Linked DNA regions of Homo sapiens: region 1 is linked to region 2. The links are contacts of gene promoters, found by promoter capture Hi-C in blood cells and fetal thymus (Javierre and others, 2016). All regions are on one chromosome and are shown on one strand. Each heading gives the region's core, a stretch centred on a gene start or on the middle of the fragment in contact. The rest is flanking DNA. Distances are from core to core; before and after follow the strand shown.

The links. Contacts are between HindIII fragments. The CHiCAGO score rates a contact against its expected background, and 5 or more counts as called.
Region 1: a contact is called between the fragment with the promoter of WBP11 here and a fragment that was not itself captured in region 2, in 11 of 17 cell types (non-activated CD4 T cells, total CD8 T cells, naive CD8 T cells and 8 more). The highest score is 15.8, in non-activated CD4 T cells.

Annotation. Positions count from the first base shown.
Region 1 is chr12:14,801,020-14,806,499 of GRCh38, forward strand. WBP11 (WW domain binding protein 11) reads right to left here and starts at 2,459. Exons shown (of 12, transcript NM_016312.3): 1 at 2,333-2,459; 2 at 301-409. The coding sequence starts at 364. It overlaps C12orf60 (chromosome 12 open reading frame 60), which reads left to right and starts at 2,651. Exons shown (of 2, transcript NM_175874.4): 1 at 2,651-2,732. SMCO3 (single-pass membrane protein with coiled-coil domains 3) reads right to left here. Exons shown (of 2, transcript NM_001013698.2): 2 at 3,631-5,480. The coding sequence ends at 4,984. RefSeq lists an enhancer at 2,755-2,994. The HindIII fragment of the contact is 2,157 bases long and covers 1,985-4,141 here.
Region 2 is chr12:15,887,425-15,893,429 of GRCh38, forward strand. STRAP (serine/threonine kinase receptor associated protein) reads left to right here. Exons shown (of 10, transcript NM_007178.4): 3 at 2,504-2,585; 4 at 3,173-3,245. Among named protein-coding and RNA genes, the nearest start is that of STRAP, 8.0 kb to the left of the region's middle. The HindIII fragment of the contact is 606 bases long and covers 1,711-2,316 here.

The DNA.
Region 1 (5,480 bases), core at 1,209-3,708, 1.1 Mb before region 2:
AAACATAACATAAAACGCGAAACAAGGGCTCGCAAAACTAATTTGCTCAAAATTTCCAATATAAAAAGAAAGATTTCAGCCAATTCTACTTTGCAAGTCAATCAAATTTGAAAAATAAAATACGGGTACTAATTTCTTTGCATATTTAAAGTCTTAATGTGCCCATACAAACCCTGAATATATAATTTATTCCTCCTATCACTGCTGGTCTTGTAATTAAGCCACAGAGAAAGAAATTCCCTAATATTTGCAATTTTTAACACTCTCCTACTTCATCATTCCACACTAATGGACACTTACGGGCTTGGTCTGTGGGGTTCATAAATTTTCCACTCTTGGTGGATGATGTAGATCTCCGTCCCATGTTGACAATTTGTATGGTTTACTTGTTCATTAAAAAAAGAAAAACCTGTGAAGGTGAAGACAAAGAAATAGCTTATATCTCCTAAATGTATTTCTTCCTTTTTCTAGTCCCTACCAATCTCTGAAAAAAAATTCCTTTAATTAGAAATTCTGTGAGACTGTTCTTTCCTTAGTTTTGACTTTAATGTCCAAGAAAGATGGCATCACCTTTCTTGACCATGAAAATTTAGATCTCTATCATTCTTCAGAAATGTGATGAGTGTGAAGACCACTTTGAATATCCTCAAGTCATCAGTTTAGCTTTTTTCTTATGGATCACAGCACTGACTTTGTCAACTGATAAAAACAACTAGAAAATGCTTTAACGATATGGCACAAACCATGAACATCAGAATTCATTAGTCCTTCTTCTATAACCTCCCTTTATTAACATGTAATTGTAAAAGAAGAATAAGAAGGGAATGGGGGTAATGGATCTAGGCTCAAAACACATACCTCACCTTTGCCTCTCTCCATGGTTTTTCTTGGCATGTATGCTGTACATTCTCAATACTTCTAAGACACTAAAAACTCATTAATTTAAGCATATTTAATTCAGATTCAGTTCTAGTTCAGATATAATGCTTGACTCTCAAGAGTTCAAAACACAACTAAAAATGCAAATATTTGAAATTAGTGCTATACTGAGAGCTCCCCAAAACTTAAATATTAAGACACATATTTTTCTTACTAAGACCTGACTCCCAATATATATTTCTTAAGGTAATTAAAGGGAATACTTATTTTTGTTTGAGGAAAAAATATTTTGTAAGCTAAAACTTTTATTAACACAGTACCCTATTACATGACTTCTTCCTCTTATTCCAAAATAATGGGGCTTAATTTTTTGAAGCGCAGTCTTTCCAGTAATAAAGGCGGACAAATTTGCTTCCTTTTGCAAGTAGACACTTTTTAAAGGTAAGAAAGGGAAGATTTTGTCAGCCCAGTTTATTACAGTTAATGTCTCTTTCACCAAGTGTCCAACTGCCCCGAAAGCCAGATGTTTCAGAAAGCCAGATGTTTCACAGCTGTTCTGGTGGCAATTACTTCAAGACAGCGGTATCAAAGGCTCTGATTTTTAGCTTCCTCATCTAAAAAATGGGGACATCAATTACTTTATAACAAAGCTCTGATGATACAATGAGATTACAAATAAAATATCCTGTGATGTTTGACTCACTACTTAACTAAAATCTTTATAATGGATCCATATTCCTGGCCTAGCTACCATACACCCTGTCAAGTGGTTTCCTTCTAAGAAAAACTGGGGATGGGGGGGTTAGGGGGGTGGGAGAGCAGCAGGGAGTAGGAGGTAGGGAAGGAGGAAAACAAGCAAAATCAGTACATATACAAGCTCTCCCATCTTTGATTGCCTGCGTTTTTTGTGCTTTCCTTTCTCAAGTTTCCTCAGGCTCATGTTCTGAATCTCCTCCCCCACAAATGAAACACAACGGATACGAATTACAGAGAATTTTACGGAAGACACTGGAGCTTAAGTCTGCAGATTAGTTTTTTGTCTACAAGCGGAGGCGACTGGAAAATCAAGCCAAATAAGCGTTGGATAACTCTAAACAGCCAAAGAAGCTTCAATGGGATAGGGTCCAGGTTCACCAAAGGAGGCAACACCAGCAACTGACGAAACCATAGCGACGGCTGACCGACCATGACTCGAGGTACAAGACGTCAAACCTAAGGCTACTAATCAACGTGCGTAAGAAGCGGCCCCAACCGACCCGGGCGATGCCAACCGCGCAACCACTGGTCGCCGCGCCACCCCAGGCCCAGGAATAGCCCAGTCCGCAACAGGGAGACCTCAACCAGGGAGAGGAGGAGCGGGGCAAAGGGGCTGGGTGTCCCCCAAGCCGCTGCGCGGGACGTGGAAGGGACGAAAGAGGTGAGGAAGAGTAGTAAATCAATTCAATACACTCACACTTCTGCTGTGCTCCCAGGACTACGAGAAGCGGGTAGGGGGCGACTCCCGGCCTCTTTCACTTCGTAAAGGCCTTCAACTGGGTCTCTCGGTCAACCCCTCAGCTACCGCCATCTTGAAACCTCGCGCCCCTCCGCACTCCTCACGTCATTTCCCATTCCTCTGTCCCGCCTTCTCTTAGCGCCGCTTGACCCTGGAACCATAGAGAATACCCAAGAATTCCAGGACCAGAGTCTCTTCCGGTTCCATACAATACTCAATTGGTTGGTTGTCGGCTAAGAGCCCGCCTCATTGCGCTCATCTAGTACAATAGGAATTAGAAGAAGATAGCTGCTAACTGAGTGGCTGACGGTCCTGTCTCTCGAGTTGGAGGCATCTTGACTTAGTTGCTGGGAGCCTGGTACGTTGAGCCGTCCGAGAACGGTACATTCTGCAGATAAAGAAGCGTTCTGCGTTTTCTGTCTTTTGGAATTACCTTAGTTTTTGCATTTTTCTGTTTCTTATGACCCAAGCAGGTGCGATCCTTTAGGGGTGTCTCCGTGTGTAAACGAATACCCAGATAACATTTGCCACTGAGTTTAATCCGCTTTGTAAGCATCAGGTTATCCCATGTGAGCGCCTAGTACGTGTGGAAATTTAATAGACAGGCAGAACAGAACGTTTGTAGACCACCTGAACAAATAAATTAGCACCCGTATTAGAGTCGCAGATTGCTTATATGGGCGGTGATTTATTATTTGTTAGTAGTGTTTTGAAGAAGAAATACGGGGATACATATGCAGTCGGTTTTAAGTTATATGAGTGGCAAGGTTGATATATATTGGCTATATTCCCGACTGGTCTTTTCACCAGCCAAAAGTCCTCTATGATGTCACTCTACGTACGGGATTCTTCACTTAACTCTAGCCTTCGCCCTTTCCCTACCTTCTATCCCCTCTTTCCGTGAGTCAGCCCCCACTTATTTCCCTTAAAGGTAAGTTTAAACATTTAAAAAACTATCTTAGAGGATACGCTTGGTTATTTCTAATCTTAACCTGACTATCCCATGTAGGAAGGCTATTCTTACCACCAGTTATAAATATTTCAAAATATTGATGGAGATACATACTAATTTTTAGCAGAATCTTTAAACTGCCCTTGAAGGTATAAGATCGGTCCTATACCTAAACTTACCTTTGTGTTAGGAAATTCTTGATTTGATTTTAGACTGAATTTGAGTGTCAGAAAGCAATGACGAGATATTGTAGGTTAAAGCTGATAAACCAGGTAGTACATAAAAAAGAAAATAATCTTGAACTGCGAAGGTGAGCTAAGTTGTAATGTTTTGCAACTAGTTTTTTTTCTTTCCTAACACATTAGTGATCATAGTTTTGCAACTCGTTTTGAAAAACAATGCAAGAAGAGAAAGAGAAAACAGTGTATGTTGGAAATATTAAAGTCTTTCATGTAGCTAAAATTTTATATGTAGCTACTATTTTTAAGATATGCTGAGCAGTTTTTATTTCAATACATTTCTTGTACTTGGATGGGAGAATCAACTATAACAAACACAGTCTGGCATCAACAGCATATTAATAATTTTGTCAGTATAGACTAAAAGAGTCCTCATGGGAATTATTGGTTGGCAAAGGATTTAGAAAACAAACACATCTGCAGAGATTCAGCGGAACCATTAATAGGCTTCCATAGCCTTTGGCGTTTTCTAAAATCAGGTAATTAGTGAAATGGCCCACCTAATGCGTCATGTAGCAAAGGCAGCTGCCTCCTTTTTGCTAGTGTTGAAAATGAAATTATATTCTTTTTTCTGAAAGCTTATAATAAATTATGACTTTCTTTTAAATGACAAATGCTTTGAGTAGTGACCTTCTATTCTGCATCCTAAATGCAATATGTGTAGCTGTGTTTTGCTTTCTTGTCTTCTAAATGTTTCAGTGTTTGAACATTCACTTGAGCGATATTTAATTATCACAGTTGGTCAGGGTTGATTGCAGTGACTGAAACAGGACCTTGATGTTTTTAGTTTTGATTTTTACCATTTTCAAATCCATCCGGTTTACATTGTGTAATCAGTAGACGTTTACAGATCAGCTTCCTGTCCTAATTGAAGCACATTGTTACAAACCATTTTTCAGTCTCTTCTAGTTTACAGAAAACCAGATTTACTCTGATGGTCAAAAATATGGTAGTATTTCTGTCTCATTCGAAGGCCTAGAGTTTGTGTCTAGGCAGAAGTTACTGAGTATGTCCCCTTATAACTAAATGATGTTTGAAGCTGGTGGTAGAAATGAAAGTCTCTGCATTCAATGTGAAATTTAAGAATTTTACTGAAATTAGAAAAGAGAAAAGTAACCCCTATACTTGCTACTCTACGATAGCATTTACCCCAATGTTGATCTGGTAGAGCAGGGTGTGAAAACATCCAGGGAGAAAATTTTTTTACCTCACAGGGTCTAGCATCAGCTGATCCAGGCATTGTTGACTCAAAACTCATCTAGTCATCTAGTCTTGGCATCTCCAGTTTCCCTCTCCAAATTGTTTATCTTATTTAAGTCCATATTGGAAGCCTATAGAAAATGAACCTAATCAAAGAAGCAAACACTGTTACTGAAAAGGAAGCAGAAAAACACTTCAGTGGCAAATAAAACGGCTGTTCATTTCATTTGGTGTTTCACTGTATTGATGACCTCAGTAATGGCATGATTATATTTTTCTGAGGCTGATTTGAACTCCACCAGATGCTTCTCATAACTTTTGATGGCTGCTTGAAGCTGTGTTTTTTCCACTGCTCCCAGGATGGCACGGACAATCATATCTATGCCAAGGCCAAGAACAGCAACTCCAATACTACCAAGGAGAGAAGCACCAATTTGAGCTAACACAGTGACCAACTTGTTAATTATGCCAGTTGTGACATTTGAGCCCACAAGTTTAACAGCGACTGCACTGGCTGCAGATGTAGCTTCTCCCAGGATGACCGAAATAACCTTTTGCACTATTGCAATTTTGTCTGTTTCCTTTTCCTTAATATCCTGAAGTTTTCTATAGAGGGTTGGCTCTAGCTTATCTTTTAGTGCTTCATCAACCTTCTGCAATTCCTTTTGGATTTTCATAATGGCTTGGATGATGAGGTCACAGTTTTCTTTGATGG
Region 2 (6,005 bases), core at 764-3,263:
CTTGATTTGAGCCCTGTGGCCAACTAATATATGTCAATTTCTTGCCTGGAGATTGAATAATACATTAGGAAACATTTAGATTAGATCCATTTTAGGGCTCTTACTGTGAATAATGGAAATCTGCCAGAGTTAGTACATGCCCTGTCAGAAAATGTCATGCCTCTATTTTAGTACTGTTTCTAAATAGGAGGAAAAACTACAGACACATTACCTCTCTGGTTAATATTACTACTTTGGTCACTCCAACTCTCTTCTCACCTTTGAATAGACACAGTCTAAGCAGAATCTTAAGATTTTAGAGCTGCCATGTTGGCGTTAGCCTGTAGCTACTTAGGAGGCTGAGGTGGAAGGATCTTGAGGCCAGGAGTTCAAGTATAGCTTGGGCAATATACCAAGATCCTGTCTCAAAAAAAAAAAGAGAGAGAGGTTTTAAGTTTATGGGAGATTATTTAATAAACTTGAAATTAGCATATCAAAGGACATTGCCCGGGTTTCTTTGGAGACTTGTGAATAATTAGAATAGTAATTTTAGATACATTTGTTGTTTTCTTCACTTTTGATGCTTTCTGTCATTCTAATACTTGTGAACCCTTACCACAACCATGAAATGCATTTCACTGTGATTAAGGATATATGTAAACAAAAAACAAAGCAAATTTAAGCACCGTAATAAGTGGAGTTCTGTGGGAGAACAGAAAGGAATGGTTAATTATTGGAGTTGAGGATAAATAGTTTCAAAGAAAAGATAGCATTTGAAATGAGCCCTAAGGGTGAGTAGAACTTTAATAGCTAAGAATGTAAAATACAGACTTAAGAGAATAATATAAACAAGAACATAGGAGCCTGGAAGAAAATACGTAAGTTATTTGAGGAGTGGTTTATAATCTAGTGTTGCTAGATTCAGAGAAACAATACAAAATGAGGTTGGGAAAGTAGATTGGGGCCAGAGAGTTGCATTGGAATGACAGAGAGAGGAGCAAGTTTCCTGGGCAAAGAGAAATGAATACTAGGGAGTTTAGCAGCAAGGCTACTTATAGTTGACATTATTTCTTTCAGAACATATTTATTCAGCCACTCACATGACCCACATTATTAAATATTGCAAGCTTTGGTAGTGTATCATGAGCATTCCTGTTAGATGGTCTTTCATATTCATTAACCACATTGCACATGCTATTAATGCTTATCTAGAATAGCCTTCCCTTCTTTTTCCCCTGATATATTTCTCTTTGCTTCTTCCGACGGCTAGCTCTGTTACTTACATTTTCTGGACAATATCTAGGTGCTTTTTTCTGAGTTTTTATAGCCATATATATGTCTTTTAATTATATTTCTTAAATGTGATATTTAATGCATGTTTTTCTCCTCAGCTAAAGCTCTACTATGGCAAGAACCTACTGTGGGGTATTTTTTGTCTCCCATTTGTGCCTTAGCACTAAGTATAGAATGATATATATTTAATATATTTTATTATGTATTGGGGTAAGCAAAAGAAAAGATACATCTTGCTTTTCTCTGATTTTTTTCCCTCTACCATTTTATTGCCCACTGTGTTCCTGAAAATAAATAGCAGTTGCATTAAAATGGAAATCTCTATGGAACATAGCTTTTTCACTCTTAGCAATTCTTTTCCCTGTCTGCAAAGTTTTCTTGTTTATTTTTCACTGACCTGTTCTGATCTAAAATCAACTTTTTTTTCCCCCTTCCTTAAGCTTTTTTATTTGGGGGAACCCTTTTAGAGTAATTTTGTAAAGTATTGCTCAACTATTACCCGCCCAGAATATACATACACATATAAATGTATGTATACCTATAACCAACTTGTATTTTGGGGTGGGGTGGGACAGAAAAAACAATGTAAAGATTAAAATAGTCAGTGTTAGCATTATATAATCAAAGGCTGATAGTTTGGGGGAAGTTAACTGTACTAGAGTTTGAAATTTTAAGTCAGCTTTGAAGAAGAGATGAAGTGGACATTGTCTCTCCACTATCTTAATTTAAAATTTTACTTAGCCTGTACCAAGGCTTTTCATTCCCTTGTAACATTTTTAAGGATTTCTGGTTTTTTTATTTATTTTTATTTTTTATTGTGCATCTGAGTGGAGAATAGAGAAAAAATTGGCATGGTGAAACTAAAAATTGGTTAAAATGTATGACAGGCTTGCTAAAGGGATATTATGGCTGTCAGCTAAAATAAAAGTAAGGAGGATGGGTTGGTTCATGAATCTTACTTGCTTAAATTGTTCATATCTTTTCCACTGTCAAAGAAAATTAGATTGGTTATAAAGTTTTTACAGAGAAATTTCTTTTCCCTTAAGCTTATTTAAATATTTTATCAAATGAAGTCTGTGAGGGATATTAGAGATAAAGGAGATTTATAATACATTTATGTAACATTTCACATATCTAACTTATTTGGTACTCATCAATATTATAATTGTATTTATCCTTTTAATATATTGGGTAATATTTATCCTACTAATTTTCTCTTTTTTACTTTTAGCAAAGTGTGGGATGCTGTCTCAGGAGATGAATTGATGACCCTGGCTCATAAACACATTGTCAAGACTGTGGATTTCACGCAGGTATCAGAAAATGGAATTTATTTTAGCGAGTTAAGTTGCTGGTACATAGTGTGATAATGCTTTTATACTTGATTGGTGTGTATATTTGATTGATATGTTTTGTGTGGAATATTTGTTATTTCTTGGTTCATATTTGATTTGATTGTGTATTAAGCTCTATGAATTTGTTTCATAGTTAATCCTGTCAAGCTTTTAAGATACTGTGGAACGAGTACCAGTCCTTCAACATGTAAAAAACATCTGAAAAGCTCAAGTAGCCTTCCCCAACTACTAATAGAAGGGAGAAGATAAATTTGAGATAATCAGAAAAGGGCCTCTCACAAGGGAGAGGAGTAGGATCAGGGGAGAATGGGAGAGTTCATGTATATGTAGTGTAGTGTAACGCTTTTGAAGTGGAAAGCTTACAAGTCTTGGCAGTTATGAGAGGTCAGCTGTTCCACAGTATCTTCTCAGAAGTAATTGGTTATGTCTTGGCATCTCTTTGTGATGTCTGTGAGCTAGATTTTGATTTTATTTGGTGTTGAAATTTGAAAGAGAAATAACTATTAAAATGGTTAATCTATTCACATTTTACTTTGTGTTTTCAGGATAGTAATTATTTGTTAACCGGGGGACAGGATAAACTGTTACGCATATATGACTTGAACAAACCTGAAGCAGGTAAGCATAATTTAAACATCAGCTTCTAGTTTTATTTTCTTTTAATTTAAATAACTGATTAAAGAATTTCATGCTCAGTACTCAAATTTGGAAAATAAAGATAGTCATGGCCGGGCACGGTGGCTCATACCTGTAATCCTAGCACTTTGGGAGACTGAGGCGGGTGGATCACTTGAGGTCAGGAGTTCGAGACCAGCCTGGCCAACATGGCAAAACCCCGTCTCTATTAAAAATAGAAAAATTAGCCAGGCATGGTGGCAGGCGCTTGTAATCCCAGCTACTTGGGAGGCTGAGGCAGGAGAATCGCTTGAACCCGGGAGGTGGAGGTTGCAGTGAGCCGAGATTGCGCCACTGCACTCCAGCCTGGGCAATAAGAGTGAAACTCAGTTTCAAAAAAAAAAAAATAGTCAACAAAGAAGAAAATTAAAACGTAATTCATCAGTTTTTGGTTTATAAACTTTCAGTCTTTTTTTCTGCACAGTTTTTAAAAAATAAGTTTATTTGCTATGTTGCTATTGTATAACCTTCTTCCAAACTGAAAATTTATTATGGCAAATTTTTATCATTAAGTTTTAAAACAGTGCAGAACAGTGTTACTATTTTTTGGTAAGAAAGATTGGTTATTTATAGAAGTTGGTGATGGTGAGAATTCTCAGTTGTGTGCACATATTGCTTAGATTTTTGAACCATGTAAATATATTAGCTATTCGAAAGAATTTTAAAAAATCTGCAGTTACAGTTTTTTCATTTCACTAAATAGTCTATGAACTGTTTGTAATGACTTTCTGGTTTTCCATCCTGTGGTTATATCATAAGTGAATTAACTAGTTTCCTGTTTTGGCCCGTTTGGGCTACTTACAGATTTTAAATATGAAAAGCAGTATTATGCTAAACATCCTTACAGTTGCAAATATTTTCACAATGATTTCCTTAAGATAACTAAGCAAAAGTAGAATTGGTGGGACAAAGAGGAGTGGAATTGTTGGAAGGTGGCCGGGCGCAGTGGCTCACGCCTGTAATCCCAGTGCTTTGGGAGGCCAAGGTGAGTGGATCACCTGAGGTCAGGAGTTCAATACCAGCCTGGCCAACATGGTGAAACCCCATCTCTACTAAAAGTACAAAAAAATTAGCTGGGCATGGTGGCAGGCGCCTGTAATTCCCAGGTACTCAGGAGGGTGAGGCAGGAGAATCGCTTGAACCCGGGAGGTAGAGGTTGCAGTGAGCCGAGATTGCATACCAGCCTGGGGGACAAGAGCAAAACTCCTTCTCAAAAAGAAAAAAAAAAAATGAATTGTTGGAAGCCATTGATAGATACTACCAAAGTGTCTTCCAACAAAGTATGGGTATATATGTATGTATCTATACCCAACATGTTCTAGTGAGCACTGATAACTAACTTTCTCTTTGTCAATTTAAGAAAATAATTCTGTTGTATTAATGTGAATATTCATGAGATTAAAATGCTATTGAATACCATTTTAATATATTCCCTTTTTTATGGAATAATTGCCTGTCTACCTTTTGTCCATTTATCTGTTGTGTTATTCATGTTTTTCTTACTGGTTTTTAAAGGTTCTTTATTGAATTCTAATTTATCATTTGCTTTTAAATTTTGTTAAGGTGGTTTTATGGTATATATGTTTTTAACATTTTGGTGGTGAAATTCTTTATGCATTCTCTCATTTTACAGAAGTTATAGGTGTCTTCCCCAGTCTACATGTTTATTTTATAATATTTTAATAATTTCCCTCACCATATATATACTTAGCTACCAAAACATGACAAACATAATTTTGTTTTATTATATATTTGGTATCTTTCAGATTTTATTATGTGGACATTTATGTAGTCATAAATCTATAAAATTTTAAAGAGTAATAAGAGAGTCAGAACCACATTGGAAATTAAGCGGTTATTCTCTTGAGATACCTTCCATTTCTGAGAACTTTTTAAAATATTTTACATTTTAATGTTACAGTAATTTGTTATGAAAACATTTTTAAGGTGAGGAAACAAAGCGCATTTGCAGATTTTTTTATTCTCCATTGCATGTAGAAGTTTTTTTCTCCTTTCTTTTTTGATAAATCTATGCCAAAACATAGCAAAGGACTCTGACCTCACTTCTTCTATGAACCCATTCAACAAAGCAAGGTAGTTCAGGGATTGGGTCAAAGCAAGGTAGTTCAGGGATTGGGTTGACATTTTTCATGCTCTTTACCTTTCCCAAAGCTGTTTTATGAAAGTTGCTCTTTCGCTGTGCTGGCAGCAGAAAATAAAATGAGGTTTTACTGTGTATCGGGTATCTGTTAAGCCCTATTCGCATTTGTAACCATTGTTATCTCATTTTACAGATGAGGAAATAAAGTTAAAAAGTTAAGTAACATGCCCAAAGGTGAAAATAGTGTTGAATGGCATTGCCTCCAGTGTCTGCTTTTGCCCCTAGAGACAGCAGTGAGGGTTTTTTGAAGTTCTTCGAAAGGATAATCTCCTACAGATTTAAGCTCCCTTCCTTTTTTTTTATGTTTTCCTCACAGTGTAGAAACATTCTTGGGAATTGCTGTCCCACTTTCTATTTCCCTTTTTTCCTTCCAACCCTTATTTCTCATTATTTACTATCAATAGCTGCTTGGATAAACGTCCCAGAGTTAGCCATAGTACTGCAATCAGATTCAACTGTTTTGTTCCTGAGTCCGTGTTCTTATTAAATTATGCCACGTTAATTATTTTATTAATAATATAATAAATACTTTTTATTATATA